3 separate regions of the Homo sapiens genome follow, and all the other regions are linked to region 2. The links are contacts of gene promoters, found by promoter capture Hi-C in human tissues and cell types (Jung and others, 2019). All regions are on one chromosome and are shown on one strand. The core of a region is centred on a gene start or on the middle of the fragment in contact, and the rest is flanking DNA. Distances in the headings are between cores, read along the strand shown.

Region 1 (2,782 bases), core at 85-2,584, 190 kb before region 2:
GCTCCCCCACTGAGCACCTTGTGACCCCCACCCCTGCCAGCCAAAAAACAACCCCCTTTGACTGTAATTTTCCATTACCTACCCAAATCCTATAAAACAGCCCCACCCCTATCTCCTTTTGCTGACTCTTTTCGGATTCAGCCTGCCTGCACCCAGGTGATTAAAAAGCTTTATTGCTCACACAAAGCCTGTTTGGTGGTCTCTTCACAGGGACACGCATGAAATTTGGTGCCATGACTCGGATCAGGGGACCTCCCTTGGGAGATCAATCCCCTGTCCTCCTGCTCTTTGCTCAGTGAGAAAGATCCACCTATGACCTCAGGTCCTCAGACCAACCAGCCCAAGGAACATCCCACCAATTTTAAACCCGGTAAGCAGCCTCTTTTTACTCTCTTCTCCAACCTCTCTCACTATCTCTCAACCTCTTTCTCCTTTCAATCTTGGCGCCATCTTTCAATCTCTCCCTTCCCTTAATTTCAGTTCCTTTCCTTTTCTGGCAGAGACAGAGGAGACGTGTTTTATCCGTGAACCCAAAACTCCAGCGCTGGTCACAGACTCGGGAAGACAGTCTTCCCTTGGTGTTTAATCACTGCGGGGATGCCTGCTTGATTATTCACCCACATTTCAGAGGTGTTTGATCACCACGGGGACACCTGCCTTGATCCTTCACCCTTAGTGGCAAGCACCACTAATTTGGGGGGCAAGCACCTCCCTTCTCTCCGTGTCTCTACCCTCCCTTTTCTCTCCACTTTCCTGGGGGGCAGGCATCCCCCACACCTTCTCTCCATGTCTCTATCCTCTCTTTTCTCTGGGCTTACCTCCTTCACTATGGGCAAACTTCCACCCCTCCATTCCTCCCTCTTCTCCCTTAGCCTGTGTTCTCAAGAATTTAAAACCTCTTCAACTCACACGTGACCTAAAACCTAAACATCTTATTTTCTTCTGCAATGCCACTTAACCCCAATACAAACTCAACAATGGTTCCAAATAGCCAGAAAACGGCACTTTCGATTTCTCCATCCTACAAGATCTAGATAATTCTTGTCATAAAATGGGCAAATGGTCTGAGGTACCTGACACCCAGGCATTCTTTGTTCCCTCCCTAGTCTATTTCCAATGCAATTGGTCCCAAATCTTCTTTTCCCTCCCACCTGTCCCTTCAGTCCCAACCCCAAGTGTTGTTGAGTCTTTCCAATCTTCCTTTTCTACCGACCCATCTGACCTCTCCCCTCATCCCCAGACTGCTCCTCAGGTCACTCCCCAGCCAGGCTGAATCAGGCTCCAATTCTTCCTCAGTTTCTGCTCCTCCACCCTATAATCCTTCTATCACCCCCTCTCCCCAAACCCAGTCCAGCTTACAGTTTCGTTCTGCAACTAGCCCTCCCCCATCTGCCCAGTAATTTCCTCTTAAAAAGGTGGCTGGAGCTAAAGGCATAGTCAAGGTTAATGCTCCTTTTTCTTTATCCGAACTCTCCCAAATCAGTTAGTGTTTAGGCTCTTTTTCCTCAAATATAAAAACCCAGCCCAGTTCATGGCTCATTTGGCAGCAACCCTGAGACGCTTTACAGCCCTAGACCCTGAAGGGTCAGAAGGCTGTCTTATTCTCAATATGCATTTTATCACCCAGTCAGCCCCTGACATTAGAAAAAAGCTTCAAAAATTAGAATCCGGCCCTCAAACCTCGCAATGGGAATTAATCAACCTTGCCTTCAAGGTGTACAATAATAGAAAGGAGGCAGCCAGACAGCAACACATTTCTGAGTTACAATTACTTGCCTCTGCTGTGAGACAAAACCCAGCCGCATCTCCAGCATACAAGAACTTCAAAACGCCTGAACTGCAGCGGCCAGGCATTCCTCCAGGACCACCTGCCCCAGGATCTTGCTTCAAGTGCTGGAAATCTGGCCACTGGGCCAAGTATTGCCTGCAGCCTGGGATTCCTCCTAAGCCATGTCCCATCTGTGCAGGACCCCACTGGAAACTGGACTGTCCAACTCACCCAGCAGCCACTCCCAGAGCCCCTGGAACTCTGGCCCAAGGCTATCTGACTGACTCCTTCCCAGATCTTCTCCGCTTAGCGGCTGAAGACTGATGCTGCCCAATCGCCTCAGAAGCTTCCTGGATCATCACAGATGCTTTAGGTAACTCTTACAGTGGAGGGTAAGTCCGTCCCCTTCTTAATCAATATGGAGGCTACCAACTCCACATTACCTTCTTTTCAAGGGCCTATTTCCTTTGCCTCCACAACTATTGTGGGTATTGACAGCCAGGCTTCTAAACCTCTTAAAACTTCCCAACTCTGGTGCCAACTTGGACAATATTCTTTTATGCACTCCTTTTTAGTTATCCCCACCTGCCCAGTTCCCTTATTAGGTCAAGACATTTTAACTAAATTATCTGCTTCCCTGACTATTCCTGGGCTACAGCCACACCTTATTGCCACCCTTTTCCCCAGTTTAAAGCCTCCTTCACATCCTCCCCTTGTATCTCCCCACCTTAATCCACACATATGGGACATGTCTACTCCCTCCTTGGTGACTGATCATGCACCCCTTACCATCCCATTAAAACCTAATCACCCTTACCCTGTTCAATGCTAATATCCTATCCCACAGCATGCTTTAAAAAGATTAAAGCCTGTTATCACTTGCCTGTTACAGCATGGCCTTTTAAAGCCTATAATCTCTCCTTATAATTCCCCCATTTTACCTGTTCAAAAACCAGACAGGTCTTACAGGTTAGTGCAGGATCTGTGCCTTATCAACCAAATTGTTTTGCCTAT
Region 2 (2,700 bases), core at 37-2,536:
GCAAGACTCCTTCTAAAAAAAAAAAGTGAAATAACAGTAATAACAGTTATGCTGTAATTCTATTTTTTTTGGGGGGGGGGAACAGTGTCTCTGTCACCCAGGCTGGAGTGCAGTGGCACAATCATGGCTCACTGCAACCTCCGCCTCTCCTGGGCTCAGGTGATCTCCCACCTCAGCCTTCCGAGTAGATGGGACCACAGGCATGCGCCAAAACGCCTCATTAAACTTTGTATTTTTTGTAGAGATGGGGTATCGCCTTGTTGCCCAGGCTGCTCTCCAACTACTGGGCCCAAGAGATTCGCCTGCCTCAGCCTTCCAAAGTGCTGAAATTACAGGCGTGAGCTACTGCATCAGGCCTATAATTCAAAAGTAGTCAAGCTGAGAGAATAGCAGGCTGTGGTTGAAAAGAGGGTTGTTCAAATTACTGAGTCGTGACGCGATAGCGTTTGGAGGGACAAGGTCCAGGTTTTAACTGGGATTGGGAGGCTGATATAAGGGTCGCTAAAGACGAGGCCCGATGTTGAATGGGTTGGCCACATAGGCTCTGAAATTATCAAAGATGGTCAGACGGGAGACAGACAAGGAGCTGGATACACAGATCGGCAGATTATCTCCAAACGGGGTGAAGTAGGTGACAGAGTCTAAGGGGAAGGGCTGAAGAAGCAAGTGTTTTTACAAGAGGTGACAGCACCTGGCACATAATCCCGACCTCTGCAAACTGAGACCTGAGAATACTAATTCATGTGAGAAAGTTTCAAGGGACGCAACATTCTCGGGACAGCCAGGTCTCTGTCCCAGGAAGGAGCGGAGAAGTTTAGAGACAAGCTGATCTAAACACGAGAACCTCTGAGGAAGACCGGCTTGAAGGCAGGAGATTGAGGAGGGGACCGAAGCGACGGCAAACCCTACACTCCTCTGCTCTTTAGTTACTTTCCTCCCAGCCAACCGCCCAAGCCACACCAACCTCCGCAATAGAAAACGCTCGGAGAACACGATCTCCCGCCCAGCTCTTTTCAACTCCCCGCGGAAGTGCTCACACCGGAACCCCTCTGTGTCCGCACTTTGCCATTGGCCGAGGCTTCCGCCCGCTTCCATTCGCTTCCTCCCACAACTCAGTCGGGCTGCGCGGTCCGTAGGAGTCACTTCCGCCTCGTCCCACCCCGCCCCCCGGTCCCTTTCTAGCAGCTTCCGGCTTCGGTCCCGCCCCGCCCCCTGTGGCCCCGCCCCGCCCCCGCCCCCGCCCCTGGCTGGCGGTCCAGCCCCGCGGCGCCGCTTCCGGTGCGGGCCCCGCCCCGGCTGTGGCCCCCGGCTGCGGAGGAGTCCGAGACGCAGCTGCCGCGCCGGGGCCTGAGCTGCCGCCTCCTCCGCCGCCCGAAAACCCGGAGTGCCCCGCACAGGTAAGTGGCCCGGGTCCGGGCTCCCTCAGGCATGGCGGGAGAGGAGGCTGCGACAGGTGGAGGGGCCGAGGCCAGGAGCCGAGGCAGGTGTAGAGAGAGAGGGGAATGCGCGAGTCGGGGGCGCGGGGACCGCGAAGGAAAGTGAGAGCGCCGCGGGAGCCCCGAGCGCCCTGTGCCCATTAGGGCATTTGAGATAAAGCGTTTGAGATAAAGCGATGAGAAGGGTGAGGGGCCCTGGAGCTGAGTGGGCGCGCAGATAGGTGGGGCGGGGGCCATCGGAAGAGCCAGCGGATTGGCTGGGAGGGTTGGTAGAGGTAAAAATGATAGGGCTGAATGGGGGGAGGTGAATAAAGAATGGGGGGAGGCGTGCAGGGGTGACCGGGAAGGTGGGCTGTGGGGCTTACAGGGGCCCGGGGCCAAAAGAATCCGGCAGCAAAAGCAGGGGAATGGTCAGCAGGCCGGGTTCAAAGCTGCAGGTAGTCCGTTGTACCCGGCTTGGTGGTCCGGGAACTTTAGGGGAAATGGGGGAGGGGCCCGTGTGAAGGGATGAAGAGGTTTAGATTTGAGACATAAGTTCTCCAAATGTAGGCAGGTGGCATTGTTTGGATCGCTGGCTGCTTAGGGACTGCGGGAAAATGGGCTCTTTGGGGGAGGGTGTGTGTATTGAGTTGTAGAACTGAGTCATCTCAGTCTTACTATAAGAGGCTGTGGGAGGGACACCTCCCCCTCTGCTGGGGACAGCATTCAGAGAAGATGGTGCCACAAGACAAGAAGCAGTTGTTCAGTGACTGGCAGGACTTGGTTGAGAAGTTATTCCGATCGTGATTGATTGACTGTAATGACTATGAGGACATTTAAAATGAACACCGAATTATTTGCTTTATTCTGTAATTTTCTTTGACCCAAATTGTTTTCATTTTAAATGAACACTTTTGCCAACTGAATTTAATGTGGATGTAAATCTTGTCATGCTTTTTTACACTGTAAGAAGAGCTAAAGCAGAATGAAAGTATTGCTGCAAGCGTAACTCACACTTTCTGAAGTGCCAAGAGAGGAAGTAAAGGCAGTAAGAGGCAAATTGGAATGCGAATCTTTCACAGAACACAAAAGGCACAAACAGGGCTATAAGATAAACAGAAAATGAGAATTTTTAATCTCTACTAATTGGCCTAGCTTTAAAAATTGTACCCTTTTTTACTCTAACCTGGAAAAAATCTTAAATCCAAGCAGTTTTTATTGCTGAAGATGTGATTACTTCTCCGTGAATTTTTGAAGATACTAAAGACACTTTGTTTTTTGTCTT
Region 3 (2,700 bases), core at 174-2,673, 140 kb before region 2:
CCCAGGCCATGCCATGGCTCCGTGGCTCATGTGGGCAGCCCCCCACTGGCCCTCACAGAGGCAGAGCTGAGTCAGCAGCCAGGGTCGGGGTGCCTCTGAGGCCCAGGCCTACTTCACTGGGAGGTGTCCCTGCACAGAAGTGAGAGGGCTCAGGAGGGGCCTGGCTCTCTGCCTCTGCTGCTTCAGGAAAAGTCCTGCTCCTTGGCTGAGCCCTCAGGGTCCTTCTCCAGCCCCCTGCCCACCGCCTGCCCTCCGGTCTCCTACACCCCCTCACACTCCAGTCAGTCATGTGGAAATGCTTGCAGTTCTCCACATGGGTTATTCCACTGCCTGCCTCCACGCCTCTGACCACGCAGCTCCTTCTTTTCCAGCTAACTCCCACTTGTCCGCAAAGACAATTCAAGAGTCCCTTGGAGCAGCCTGTTCGCACCTATGCACTCACACAGCACCTTGTTTGTTTAGACCCGCCCAGTGCCTCACAGCAACCCCATCTGGGTTCACTGTCAGAGCTCTGAGCCCACGGGGCTACTCGTCCCAAAGGCATACAGCATGTCCCAACATCTGACTTCGAAGCTGGGACAGGCCTGGCTCCGGGAGGGACAGAGGCTTCTACCTGGGGTAGCTGAGCTGTCCAAAGAAGTTTCAGCCATGTCGAGCCCCTGGCGTTGCCGAAATCCCCCACCCCACGGTGCCACAGCACCAGGGCAGCCCCTAGGAAAAGCCAGCCCCTCAGAGGCCCTGTGCTAAAGACCAGAAATTGCCCCTGGGTCTCCGCAGGAGTTCTGCAATGGGGAAGTGAGCCCTCCTGAGGCCTGGCTGGCAGGAGGCTCTTCAAGGCCAGCATCATGTGGACTTCCCCCAACCACTCGCGTTTCTGCACAGCAGCCACGGAGACCTGGGGGCTGCTGAAAAACGAGATCAGAAGGCAACGTCAGCCTGAGTGGGCTGAAACCTGAGATGAGGAAATGAGAAGACGTCAGGGGGCTGGAGGACATGGGTTTGAGGACAGCCAGCACCCAGCACTGCAGCTGAGGCCTCCTGAGGGAGCCAGAGGGAAAGCAAGTCCCCTCCCTGCGGCCTGAGTCTCTGCCAGTGCCCAGCACTCCCAAAGGATCCACCCCAACCTGAGAGACCCCAAAGACATTGGAGCAGCCCCAGACACCTCCTCCCAGGGCCACAAAGGCCCCTGACAAGCCCACAGCAGTCCAAGGCCTCCAACTGGAGTCATCTTTGGTAAATCTGGGGCCCATCAGCACCCACTGCCCTTCCTGGTGCCCTAAGCATGCTGGCAGGGGGACTGGAAACTGCATCCCAGTTTGCAGTGGGTGTATGTCTCATACACCCACAATACCTGATGTGGGCGTGACTCACCTTGGGGACCTGTGAGTCAATAAGGGTGTATGAGTAAGGGGCAGAGCATTTCAACTTAGTCCCATAGCACATGAGCTCACTAAGCAAACATTACCTATGTCTAGATTTGGGGCCAGTCACTACCCACTGGAGGCTGTGGGCTCCAAGGTATGGCAGCAGGGGAGGCCAGCCAGGCTCTGCCCAGCTTGCCCCTCCTTGTGAGGACGGACCCAGCCAGGCCTCCCGCATCCGCCCTTAGACTGGGGGACCCTGGGTGGGGGTAGAAAGGGGGACTGAAAGTGGTGTCTGGAGTTAAGCCCATCTCCTCATCCCCCACCATGGGGATCAAGATGGGGGCTAAGAGTCACCCCACCACCACCCCAACCCACTCTGAACGCAAAACAGAAGGGGACAAGCAAAACAGAACTGAAACTGGGCAAAGGAGAAACAGGTCTGGGCCCGCCCCAGGGACCTCTGTATCTCACCCCTTACCCATACACATCCTGACCAGGGCCTCTCCCCCAGCCTGGGAAAACCTTTCAAGCTTGGCCCTCTCTCACCTGGGCTCTCTCAGCCTCCTGCCCTCCCCCATCTTCCCTGCTCCCAGCCTCATGCTGCCCCAGGCCTCACCCCATCAGAGCTAAAAGGACCCCAGGCTGGGCATCTGTAGATCAGGGATCTGGTCTCCCTCTGCCACTACCTTTTGGGATGACCTTTGGGAAGTCATTCCCTTCTCTGAGCCACAGTTTCCTCATCTGGCCTGGGCTGTGGGCATAGAATCTGCAGGTGAGGGCTCTAATGGGTGAGTTTCAGGCCAGGCTGAGACTTTTCACATTATAACACTGAGGCACCCAGCACCTTGACTACCACTCATCCTGGGGACTTGGGAAGGGACAGAGGCTGGGATTGGACAGTAACAGCCAAGACCTTCCCAGGGCACAAACGCTGCCTCCCTGAAGCCTGCCCTGACTGTCCATGCAGGTCACTCCCATCACTTCACCTCCTCCTTCCCTCCACTCAGCACCAGCCACCACTGGGTCACATCTATGTCCCTTTGGCTCTGCAAGAGCAGCCTGGACCCCTGCATCCCCTACCCCAGCACAGGCCTGACACCAAGCAGGGGCTCAACAAAATATGTGTTGAAGGCCAGGCACAGTGACTCATGTCTGAAATCTCAGCACTTTGGGAGGCCAAGGCCAACAGATCTCTTGAGTTCAGGAGTTCGAGACCAGCCTCGGTAATGTGGTGAAACCTCATCTCCACAAAAGATACACAAAATTATCTGGGTGTGGTGGCATGCACCTGCAGTCCCAGCTGCGCGGGAGGCTGATGTGGGAGGATTGCTTGAGA

Evidence for each region. Contacts are between HindIII fragments. The study calls those that stand out against the background at their distance.
Region 1: a fragment that was not itself captured here is called in contact with the fragment with the promoter of ARID3B in region 2 in 1 of the 25 tissues and cell types used here (mesendoderm cells).
Region 3: a contact is called between a fragment that was not itself captured here and the fragment with the promoter of ARID3B in region 2, in 2 of the 25 tissues and cell types used here (dorsolateral prefrontal cortex and lymphoblastoid cells).

Annotation. Positions count from the first base shown.
Region 1 is chr15:74,354,316-74,357,097 of GRCh38, forward strand. All of the region lies in intron 1 of CYP11A1 (cytochrome P450 family 11 subfamily A member 1), which reads right to left. Among named protein-coding and RNA genes, the nearest start is that of CYP11A1, 12 kb to the right of the region's middle. The HindIII fragment of the contact is 4,859 bases long and covers 1-2,782 here.
Region 2 is chr15:74,539,934-74,542,633 of GRCh38, forward strand. It overlaps ARID3B (AT-rich interaction domain 3B), which reads left to right and starts at 1,287. Exons shown (of 9, transcript NM_006465.4): 1 at 1,287-1,397. It overlaps LOC124903528 (a long non-coding RNA gene), which reads right to left and starts at 1,155. Exons shown (of 2, transcript XR_007064719.1): 1 at 965-1,155. RefSeq lists enhancers at 543-672, 607-1,148, 723-872, 2,223-2,282 and silencers at 1,173-1,532, 2,049-2,233. The HindIII fragment of the contact is 13,134 bases long and covers 1-2,700 here.
Region 3 is chr15:74,395,751-74,398,450 of GRCh38, forward strand. No RefSeq gene overlaps it. Among named protein-coding and RNA genes, the nearest start is that of MIR6881, 14 kb to the right of the region's middle. RefSeq lists enhancers at 511-580, 601-670, 721-1,070, 752-1,951, 1,121-1,320 and 3 more. The HindIII fragment of the contact is 6,100 bases long and covers 1-2,700 here.